Regions from separate parts of the Homo sapiens genome. Here region 1 is linked to region 2. Evidence: promoter capture Hi-C in human tissues and cell types (Jung and others, 2019). All regions are on one chromosome and are shown on one strand. Each heading gives the region's core, a stretch centred on a gene start or on the middle of the fragment in contact. The rest is flanking DNA. Distances are from core to core; before and after follow the strand shown.

Region 1 (5,817 bases), core at 248-2,747, 540 kb after region 2:
GACTAGCTGGGCTATCTTCTGCCAGGCTATGACTGTCCATGCCTTTCCATGTCCAGCTATAAAATGTGGCACAAGACAGCAGCTCTCTCTCAGAGACTCAGCTGCGCCTCCTCCTCTTGCCCTGCGCTCTAGAACTCCTTGATCCTGAGGCCTGGCAGGCCCCACAGGGCCATCTCCAGCCTCGGCAAGGGCGGATCGGACCTAGAGGTGCTCATGTTGGGGGTGATAAGGTTAGGCGAGGCCTTGGCATCTGTCCCCATAACAGCTTTAGCCTTCTAAACACAAAGCCACAGCCAGACGTTGCTGCCTGGAGCCAAAGGGCTGCCTGGAAGGCCCTGGCCTGAGCTCAGTTAGTGGCTGTCACTAAGGAAGGCAAGCAGTGCACTAGCCTTTAATACTTAACCCATCTCAGACTCAGTCTGCTCAGCTGCAAAAGTGCAAATCACAGTGGGCACCTACTTCACTGGTTCGTTATGAGGATTAATGAGGCACTGCATGTAAACAACTGCACGCAGCGCGCGCCTGCCTCATAGAACACTCCCTGTGAATGTAAGCCATTCCTCCTCTGAGGCTCAGGAAAGGCAAGTATCTTGTCTCAGACCACAGGGCTAGACAACTGGAGGAGGAGGGTTGTAAATCCCCCACCAACTCCACACAGCAGACACAAAAGGGAACACTCCCTGGGAGTGACACCTGAAGGTCAGGGTCCCACATGCTGTTGACCTCTTCCACAGTTGGCACTTCACTTCAGAGTTTACTAGCTAGAACTCCGTTTGTCATCAACCCCGCGCCTTCAGCAGGACAGGAATCACGTCTTCCCCCTCCCCTACGTCTTGGGCAAGCAAACTAACGGCCAAGACATTGAATACCAGTCCGGGTCTCCGCCCCAAAGGGGCTCAGGCTACCGCGTGGCAGAGAGAACGAAAGTGAAGAACAAGAGCAAGACAAAACGCCGAGTCTCGGAGGCCAGGGCACTGGCCCTTCCATTGCTCGGTGCTCTCGGCCAGTTTCCTGCCCTTCCCAGCCTCAGTCCTCCACGGTTTCCCAAGGCATGGGAGCTCCCAAGGCGGCTCCAGCAGGACTTTTCGCTTCTGGGGAAGGTGGTGCCCCTGCTACCCGGACCTTCCCACCATGCTGACAAGGGTCGCAATCCTGCGAGTGTCAGGAAACCCCCACTGACTGGAACCAGGCGGGTGTGGGGGCGAGGCGGGAGTCGGCCCAAGGTCGCGCGACTGGACCCTGCCCCGCGCTAGGGAGGGGTCCCTTTCGTTCCTAGGGTGAAGACTGGGCCCACAGAGAGGCACTGACCGGGCTCGAGCGGCGGCCCCGCTGCCTCCGCCTCCGTCCTCATGACCCGGGCGGCGCGGGGCGCCCATGGCCCCGGCCCAGAGCGGGCTACAGCTTCCGCTTCGGCTGGGGCGGGAGGGCGGTCGGTGCGTGTCGAGTTCCTTCTCCGCCACCGCCGCCGCTGCGGAGGAGAGAACGGGAGGCGGCGGCTGGGCCGCCCCAAGCGCCGCCCCAGCCCTTCCAGGTCTCGAATCTGGAGGCCCCGCCCCCTCCTTAGGCCCCGCCCCAAACTTTGATCTTAGAGGTCCCCAGCCTCTTGATTTAAGTCTGCTCCGGCCATTCGCCGCCTCAGCGTTGAGTGGCCCCACCCTCTCGCCCAATCCTCGCGCAGACGCGCAGCTCACCAGGACGCGGGCCCCGGAAGCCCCGCCCCTTTCTTTGAGCCCCGCCCCAAAGCTCGTGCATTTCCTGAATAGAGGCTCGTCCCTTCGGCAAGCCCCGCCTCTGCCGGGTCCCGCTCTTTTGCCAGTCCTAGGTGTAAGCCCTGATCCCGCCCAGTGCATCCCCGAGGCCCCAAGCAACTCTCCTCCAACTGTCTTTAGGGATAACCCTGAGCGGGCAGCCGCTCTACTCTATACCTAACTTTATCCGTACCAGATACCTAGCCTCACTCAGGGCCCCCCTTACCTGGCGGTGCCGGGATCAACAAATGAAATTGTGACGGGAAGTCCTGGCCCTTGGCCCAACCTCCTGCTGTCCCCGGTCTGAGGGCCCAAGCCCCGCGTCTCCGCCTTGCCGTCCAGCCTGTCCTTGGTGTGGGGTGCTTGGAAGTGTGAGCACCCTCTCTGGCTCTTTGCCGGCCCCAAGGGTCGTTGCGGCGGCCCCCGGGCCCAGTCATCAGCCCTCTTTTCCGGTGCCGGAACTATCGTACTGGTGCCCTAGTTTCCCAGCCGGCAGGCGGAGTGAGGAGGAAGCGGAGGCGAGACCGCGCTCAACACTGGGGAAAGGAAGGAGGCGGGCCCTGCGCGCAGCATTTTGGGAAAGAGTGGAATTCTGGGTGTTAGGCCCGCCATTCGCTTGACTCACGCCTTCGCCGTAGCATCTTTCGCAGCGGACCGAAGAGAAGAAAAGTAGGCCAGAGCCGGTGAGGCTGGGGACGGGCGAGGGGAGGTCGAGGCGCCTGTGAGGGGCCAGGGGCTGGAGAAAGACTTGCTGCATGGAACTCTGCGGGGCTCGGGGAGGGAAGAAAGCGGGAAGCTTGGGCCACCCAAACATCAGCGTCGCCTCACTAGCTCCTGGAAGTAAGTTCATTAGCTTTCCCCTCAACGTGCATGCTTCTCACATTCTGTATCTCTCCAGGTGAGTGTTTTTCAAAGCTTCCAGGCAGTAATCTCGAAGTCATTTCTGATTGACTATCTCCTTCCCCCAAATCCTATGAGTTTTTTTTTGTTTTTTTTTTTTTAAGTAGAGACGGGGTTTCACCATGTTGCCCTGGCTGGTCTCGAACTCCTGGGCTCAAGGGATCCACCGGCCTCGGCCTTCCAAAGTGCTGGGATTACAGGCGTGAGCCACCGCGCCCAGCCGGTCATTTTTTAAAAAGTTCTTTGTATCTCTGCCCCAGTCCCCTTTCAGGCAATGGTCCCCTCATGCTTTCCACACTGTTGCAGCAGTTTTAACTGTTGCAGAAGTTTTAACAAGTTTCTCTGCTTCTAAACCTTACGTTCTATCCATTTTGTAAATAAATGCTGCTATCTTTTCATTGCGTCATTCTTTACATATAATTCTGCAGTGGTTCTCCACTACCTTCAGCATAAAATCTAGACTCCTAAGGCTGAAAGCCAGGGATCCTCACCAAAGGAGCCTGTCCTTTCAACCTCATGTTCTCCTGTCTTAGGTACGCTTAAGTTGAAACTTAGAGTTGTTGCTCATCTCAATAAAAAGTTCACTGCTTGATGCTTTTGATTAGGTCAAGTCAGGTGCTTTCCCTGATTTTCCTCCATGACAAGCATTTCCTGCATATAGCACGTTGTCACTTTGATATTTTCTCAATATCCTTGATAGTAAAATAAGTGAAGGGTTAAAGGGCTGAATTAAAAGTACAGCCTGCTCTCCTAGATGTGCATGGTCCTTTGGTCTGTATCTGCACCTTCCATAGGGTAGCCACTAGCTACATGTGGCCGTTGAGGACTTGGAATATGGCCACTGGGATTGAGGGACTGGGTTTTTTTATTTTAATTCTATTGTGTTTTAGTTAAGTTTAATTTAAATAGCTACGTGTGTACATGAGCTGCTGTATTGGACAGCTCGGGCCTGTATTATTCTCAAAACGTAATCATCTACAATTAAGGGTTAACAAATAACAGTGCAACAAATTAACATTCCAGTCCCCCTCCCCTGACACACACAGTATTGGCTAATGGTCCTTTAGCTGAAGATTAAGGGACATAGGGTAGCGGGGACACATGACCCATGGGAGATGCTCTCTTTTCATTCCTAGTTTTACTTCTGTCCATCCCATCATTCCTCCTCACCCCACATCTTGCACATATTTGCCAGATAGTTTCCTCCAAACCAGGAGCTGAGCTTTTTTTTTTTTCCTTGGTAGAAAATGCAGCTTTGGTGTTTTTGCTAAGTTTTATGGAGTGCCAGGCCTTAAAGGAAGCATGATGTGTGCCACATGCCTTTTCAGACTCTGAAAGATGAACTGACTGTTGTCTCTCTCATTGTAGAACTCTCTTCCTGCCAAGATGTCTATTGGTGTGCCGATTAAAGTACTGCATGAGGCCGAGGGCCACATTGTGACATGTGAGACGAACACCGGTGAGGTATATCGGGGGAAGCTCATTGAAGCAGAGGACAACATGAACTGCCAGGTATTCTGCTTTGCATGTGAGGCTGTGTGGGAGGAATGGCCCTGTGTCTTGAAGGACAGAAAAGTGTGTGTTGAGGGTCTCTGGAAATTGTTCTCATTCAGCAGTGATTTCCTAAGTGCCTAATGCATACCAGTCAGGTGCTGTTATAGGCTCTGGGGGTGTGGGCATGAACGAGACACATAATCTTGAGGCAGAAAAGCCATTTGGAGGTTTGGAATATTTTACTTTGTCCTTTTTGTTTTTTCCATCCCCAAATATGGGGGTCTATTTGGGAGAAGTGCTACTTCCTTCAGTAGAATCCTTCAGATTCAGGGCCATTATCCATTTGCCTCCACTTGCTTTGCGATTAGCAGAATCTTCTCACCTACTGTATTTGTTTCCCTTTTCTCTTGGAGGAGGAGTCTCATTTGATTATTGCAACTACCTTGTGAGGTAAGCAGGTTTGGTGATAGTCTTGTCATCCATAAAATAGGGAGAATGAGATTAAAGGGCTCATCACTCTGATGATAAATAATGGAGTAGTTTCCTGATATGGTGTCCTTCTCATGGCACAACTTTGCCTTTTGCATAGTCATCTGAATTTTTATAGCATTGTTTTTCAGTTGTATCTTCACACTTTCTTTGTTCTTTAAACCACTGGTTAAGAACTTGGACTTGGGAGTCAGAGAGAGATGTGGGTTTGAATCCTAATTATATGACTTTAGATGTATTAACCACTCAGTTTTCTCATCTGTAAAATGGGGGTGGTATTATGTTGGGTTCTTTGATGTAGATGCCAAGACAGAATTTTGCAAGGTATTTATTGGGGGAAATGACAATAAAGGATAAAAGAGCAAGGAAGCAGTAGTAGGCAGGGAAATTTTCAGTCTATGGTGCTGGTCTGACTGGTGAAATGAGAGGGGAAAGGAAGGAGGATTGAGCAGGAAGAGCCTTAGACTACAGCGTAGTTTTGAGGAAATCTCAGCAAGGCAGCGATTGCTCGTTAGAAGAGTCTAGCATGGGGCAGAAATGGGCGGACTGGCACCCCCGGTGTGTTCAGGCTGGCAACATGGGGAGAGAGTAGCCTCAAGTTGAATGCCATGGTGGACTGCAAAGATGGAGATTGTCGGCTGCCTGCACTCCTCATAGCCTGTTCTCTTTTGAAGGGAGATGTGAGCAGCACACCCTTAAGACTGCCACAGGGGTAATATCCACACCCCCAGGACTTTTACAAAGATCAGATGAGCTGTATGTGTGCCATAGCTGCTCAGTGCCTCACATACTGTGAGTGTTCAACATATGATACCTATTGCTTTTTTCCAGATGAGAAGGTCAGAGAGGTAAAGCACCTTACACCGCGGTCAGGCATCCTGACCATCCATTGGTTTGCAGGGTTCATTTATTTGTGATTTTTCTGTAGCTTTGAGCGTCTGTCATCTTCCTGCGAGGTTGACAAGCTTGGTCAGTTCCCTGAATGCAGAGAAGTAGACCTCTGGTGACTCAGGTTTATTGCATTACTGTCAATAGATCAGTTTATCTATTGAGGGTAGATAAGTTTATCATCTCTCATATATCCAGTCCTCTGGCTTAAGGCATGCTCATCCACTTTAAGGTTCTTTAATTTGGTGAGGAGAATGCAAGACTTGGGTTAGTGAAGCTTAATGGGTTTGTTCAATTA
Region 2 (5,788 bases), core at 2,013-4,512:
GAAGTCGCCATCTCTGAGGGCAGGCACCTTCCCCAGGGGGTTCACCTTCAGGAACTCAGGCTTCAGGTGCTCCCTTGGTGGGCAGAAAGGAGAGAAGGCTCAGTGTAGGGCCTGGTCCTTGGCACCCACTCCATGGGGCCCAGCCCAGCCACCTGGCTCACCCCAAGCCAACTCCACCATCCACAGCTCAAAAGGGATGTCATTCTGTCTTGCAAAAGTGGATAGTGTGTCAGGTCCAGGAAGAGCTCAAGCCCCATTGCTGCTCCTCTCACCTGCCCTCCCCAGAATTCTGGACCTCCAGGAGTTGCTCAGCCCTTCTCCACTAGTTCTGAGCTGTTTCCTCTCCATAGTCTGCTGTAGTGGGCCAGAGCACAGGGCAGATTTGTCTTCAGGGACTTTCTCTGGGCATTCCTGGGCAGAGAACTTCATCTTCTCTGTTAACTCTTGCTGATAATTCTCTGTAGCTAGGCACCTTGTAAAACCCATGTCCCAGAATGCCAAACCTGGAAATGCAATGTCAGCGCCGAAACTGCATTGAAACTGAATGAATGAGGTCCCCACCCTCTTATCTAAATATCCTATCAGTCTGTTGAATGTCAAAGTATGTAGGGGTGGTGTGGGGGAGCCTATAGGGAGTCTCCATTTCTGTAGCTTTCCACATGTTCCATGCAGAATTTTCCTCTAATGACCCTTGGACACCGTGGTGGTCACTGTTTCCCTGCATAAACCTTTGATGATCCTTATCTTTAGCGTACCAGTGAAACACCAAATTCAGATTTTCAGTCTGTGCAGTCTATGTAGTTAATAAAATCAATTTCTAATGGAATATGCCTGTGCCTGGTGTGTTTGTACCTAACCACTGCTAAGGACTTTCATTGATAGCTAGACCTTGGAGTTCCTTCCCCTGGACCCCTGACCCAAGTATTTTGCACTCATTCCTCTGCCAGTGTGTTTCATGGTGTCCTGCTTCCCAGAGTGCCTCAGGGAATGCTTGCATTGGATATGAATGAATCGTTGCGGTCACCATGGATGGGATTCAGGCCTAACTCTCACCAAGACCATAAGGCCACAGTCTTTGATATAGATTCCCCATGTTAAATCTGCCATCCTCAGTGTAGTGAGAGTGATATTGAGAGAGAAAAGTTAGGTAATTAAGGTGGGTCCTTGGTAAAACTCCTTTAAACAGAGGAACAGCCTGAAAAATCAGGCTTCAGGCACAGATAAGGAAACTTGCACAAACCTCTGGCTCACTCAGATAAAGGAACAATGCCCAACACAGAAACACCTTTGATCTTTGTGCCTAAGGCATGCCCACAGCTACTTTGATAAGGGAACAAGACCCAGCATAGAAATGCCTTTGTCCTTTGTATAACCAGTGGGCTTCCAGGAAATAGTCTCTTCTCCTTTTGTGGACATGTACACGGTGGGCTACAGTGGGTTCCAGTGGGCACTTTCCTTTCTTGGACGTGCTTTAGAATGTGAGCCTCTGATTGGTCCTGGGCCAGGCTATCACTTCAGCTCCTGATTGGTCCCTCAAGGTCCAGGGGCCAAGCTGAGTAGTGCTTTCTCCAAGACCAGTCAGTACATTCCTTCCTTTCCCAGTCCATAAAACCCCCTGACCCAGCCTCATAATGGGCAACCTGCTTGGGCCCCCCGCCAGCTGCAATGAGCTTTCTTCATTTGCTTATTAAACTTTTGCTTCAACCTTACCCTTTGTGTCCACACTCCCTAATTTTCTTGGTCGTGAGACAAAGAATTCTGGGTGATACCCCACAATGAGAGACTGGTACATTGTGGTGCACGGGCAAGACTGCAACAATATGTTTTCTGCTTGCTTGTTTGGACTGGCCTCTTCCTAACTCTCCAGAGTGCTCTCTCCCCACTGTGGCCCTGAGCTTTGCCTCACGGTAACACTGTGCTGCATGACACTCCAGCATGATCTGCATGTTTCTCACCTCCGGACCTTCCCCACACAACTTTCTTGCTGCTTGGACCACCCTTCCCACCTATTTTCAACTGTTTCTCTCCAGCGCATCTTTCATGATAAGGCTTGAGTGGAAGCTGTATCCGAGGCTGAAGGTTATCCATGCAGCTTTGAAACCATCTGTTTATGCTTCTGTTTACCCCCCAAATACTGTTTACCCCAATACTCAAAGTCAAGGTTGGTGACTCAACAATTTTCAGAACTTCTAGCTTATCAGTATAGCTTTATTGTACTGAACTGAGTTTTTCACCATGCTGTTACTGTCTTTGAGGTTAAAAAGCCCCCAACATTCACTCCTATTTGAATCATCTGTGCAAGACTCAAGCAGCTATGAATTCAACCACAGTGTAAAGTTCTTCCCTACAATGCTTTATTGTTATTCTAGCTCCCAAGAGAGTACCATCTTTCAGCCCAAGACCCTTGACAGAACCCCTTCAACTCTGTCGCCTTTTTTCATCTCTGGAATTCTGACACCACCCATGACCCCTCTTCTTGTTCATTTACTAGGTTTTGTTCCTTTTTTTCCTTTTGTTTCAATATCCTATTGTATCTGTTCCTTTTGGGCTTCACATCCTTTTTGGAAAGAGAGGCACAGGTAATATAATGAATGAGGATGCTCCTCCTCCCTGGTTCCCTCTAAGTCAAGTTTCTCCAACGCGCTGGTCTGCTTGGCTTTGAATGCGGCTCAACACAAATTCATAAACTTTCTTACAACATTTTGAGATTTTTTGGTGATTTTTATTTTTATTATTTATTTATTTATTAACTTATCAGCTATCCTTAGTGTTAGTGTATTTTATGTGTGGCCCAAAACAATTCTTCCAACGTGGCCCAGGGAAACCAAAAGATTGGACACCCCGCTCTAAGTGTTCCCCAAGTTTCCACTGTTTTCAGAGCACATGTCCCAGGTAATAACACACAGCCCATCATTTAGTGACTGCTCAGGGTGCAAGCTGTGGAGAAGAGAGTCCGACTACGAGCTGGTGCTCTAAGCCTCCAGCACGCTAGGACTGACGACGGGGATCCGGAAACAACAAGCTCCACTCCCGCAACACACACACACACACACACACACACACACACACACACACACACACGCACACGCACACGCGCACGCGCGCACACACGCGCACACACGCGCGCACGCGCGCGCGCGCCGCCCAAGGGTAGCCGTCTGCAGGGCCCCAGCTAAGCAGCCCGCGGAGAGCGAGCGGCGCGTGCGCCCCCGCTGATTGGCTGGCACAACCGGCACCGGAGCCAATGGGAGCACGCCTTGTTGTCAGGCGCGCAGCCGGACGGCGCGGTGGTCGGGACAGACTGGCCGTTGCTGTGGAGACGCCTGGTGAGTTCCTGGAAGGCTGGTTTGAAGGCGGTGCCGGGGTGGGGGTGAGGCTCAGCAGAGCCCGGGGCACAGGCCGGAGGGGCTGCAGGCGCGAGGCTGGGTTACGTGAGGAAGCTGGGGGTTTCGCGGGCAGCTTTAGAGCCCCAGTCAGGGAAACCGAGGCCGGGCTTCCTGGCTGCCTCGCGAGCCTCTTCATGGCTCTCGCCGCCGCCCTGAGGTGCCTAGAATGGGTTCCGGCCTCCGGGGAGGTTCCCAGTAACCGCAGGAGCCACCATTGATTTGGCGTCTGCTGGGTGCAAAGCCCAGCGCGCTAACCCTTTACTCGCGACCTTTCGCTTCACCTTCACAGCAGCCCTGCGAGGTGAGTGTTGTTATTGGTGCCATTTACAGGGGTGGAAACTGAGGCCGCGGGTAGGTGAAATGATTTGCTCCAAGTCACCCAGTGGGTGAGCGCGACTCCAGACTGAAAATTTTGACCGTTCTGCTTCACTGCCTCCCCGCAAGAGGCGGGCCCTGGCCAGATGGAACTCACCTGGCATTCCCAAGGTATCTGCACAAGTGGCTTTGGGAGTCACTTAACTCTTCAGGACCTGGGTTATTACAGGTTATAAGTGTGGGACCGTCGGATTCCATGTGGCTAAGATTCTTTCTATGTGATTATTGTGGTTAGAAATAGAATATGCTTAGAACAGTCTCGTTCAGCGGTCGGCAAACTTTTGTTGTAAATATATCAGTGTTTACATTGTTATATTGTAAGTATAATGAGTATAATAGTATTCATAATAGTAGTTTAGGCTTGGGGGGTCCATACTCTGTCTACTTAACTGTAGCGATGTAGTGTGGATACAGCCAAAGACAATACATAACAGACTAGCTGCGTCGCAATAAAATTTTAATTATAGGGACCGAAGTTTTAATTTTATATATTGTTAATATAATTTTCACGTGTCATGATTTTTTTTCCCAAATATGAAAAAATGTAAAAACCATTCTTTGCTCGTGGGCTGTACAAAAAGGGTGGGCTGGTTAGCTTGCAGAACCCTCATCTAGTACAAAGCCTCATACATGAGGGGAAACAGACTGAGAGACTGACATCTATGTCAAGTCAGTCACACAGCCAGGGCACTGCCACCACTGAGCTTAAGACATAGGCTTCCCACCTTCCAGGCCAGGAAACATCCCCAGTTATCACTCTGGATCAGGGTGCTGAGGTCTGAAGGTGTGCTACTCTTTATCGTGTTCTGAGGCCATGGAAACTATATTCTAAGGGGTTTGGAAACTTATTAGCTTAGACTAATAAGCCTGGTGAATGTGCTGCTATCTGAGGAAATGCAGCTGCTGGGCTGGGAGTCAGAAATGAATAGATATTTTTCTTTTTCATGATTATTCAATAGCTTTTGTGTGTGTGTGTGTGACGGAGCCTTGGTCTGTCGCCCAGGCTGGAGTGCAGTGGCATGATCTCGGCTCACTGCAATCTCCGCCTCCCGGGTTCAAGCAGTTCTCCTGTCTCGGCCTCCCGAGTAGCTGGGACTACAGACACCCGCCACCATGCTTGGCTAATTTTTGTATTTTTAGTAGAGACGGGGTTTCACCGTATTGGTCAGGCTGCTCTCAAACTCCTGACCTCAGGTGATCCACCCGCCTCGGCCTCTGAAAGTGTTGGGATTACAGGCGTCAGACACCGCGCCCGGCCTCAATAGCTTTTTTTTTTTTAAAAGCTCCTTTTAGTGAGTTTCTTGGATTTATGGTGAACAATACATAAATGGTTACCATCCTCACATTGCTTACAGATGATAAATATATAATCAAAATGGTTATTTCTTTTTAAGCTTTTTTTTTTTTTTTTTTGAGATGGAGTCTCGCCTGTGGCCCAGGCTGGAGTGCAGTGGTGCGATCTCGCCTCACTGCAAGCTCCGCCGCCTGGGTTCACGCCATTCTCCTGCCTCAGCCTCCCTAGTAGCTGGGACTACAGGCGCCTCTCACCATACCCTGCTAGTTTTTTGTATTTTTTAGTAGAGACGGAGTTTCACCGTGTTAGCCAGGATGGTCTTGATCTCCTGACCTCATGATCCGCCCGCCTCGGCCTCCAAAAGTGCTGGGATTATAGGCGTGAGCCACCATGCCCGGCCTCTTTTTAAGCTTTTTAAACTAATTTTAGATTTAGAGAAAAATTGCAACAATACAAAACGCTCTGTTATGTCCTTCACCCTGCTTTCCCTAATGTTAACATCTTACATAATCATACAATTATCAAGAACAGAAATCTAGTGTTGGTACAGTATTATTAACTACATTACAGATGTGATATGAATGTTACCATTTTTTAAATTAAGGTTGTGTTTTCATTCCAGGACCCTATCCAAGATCCCATGTTGCATTTAGTTATTTCTCCTTGGTCCATAACACTTCCTTAGTCTTTTCTTGTTTTCCTTGGCTTTGATGCTTTTAAAGAGTAGTGATCA

What was found. Contacts are between HindIII fragments. The study calls those that stand out against the background at their distance.
Region 1: the fragment with the promoter of GUCD1 here is called in contact with the fragment with the promoter of CABIN1 in region 2 in 1 of the 25 tissues and cell types used here (dorsolateral prefrontal cortex).

What each region holds. Positions count from the first base shown.
Region 1 is chr22:24,553,641-24,559,457 of GRCh38, forward strand. It overlaps GUCD1 (guanylyl cyclase domain containing 1), which reads right to left and starts at 1,498. Exons shown (of 6, transcript NM_001284254.2): 1 at 1,309-1,498. The coding sequence starts at 1,351. It overlaps SNRPD3 (small nuclear ribonucleoprotein D3 polypeptide), which reads left to right and starts at 2,359. Exons shown (of 4, transcript NM_004175.5): 1 at 2,359-2,431; 2 at 4,017-4,160. The coding sequence starts at 4,035. RefSeq lists a silencer at 1,247-1,606 and an enhancer at 2,067-2,166. The HindIII fragment of the contact is 7,481 bases long and covers 1-4,129 here.
Region 2 is chr22:24,008,042-24,013,829 of GRCh38, forward strand. CABIN1 (calcineurin binding protein 1) reads left to right here and starts at 3,263. Exons shown (of 37, transcript NM_012295.4): 1 at 3,263-3,326. LOC105372959 (a long non-coding RNA gene) reads left to right here. Exons shown (of 2, transcript XR_001755457.1): 2 at 1-826. The HindIII fragment of the contact is 7,958 bases long and covers 1-5,309 here.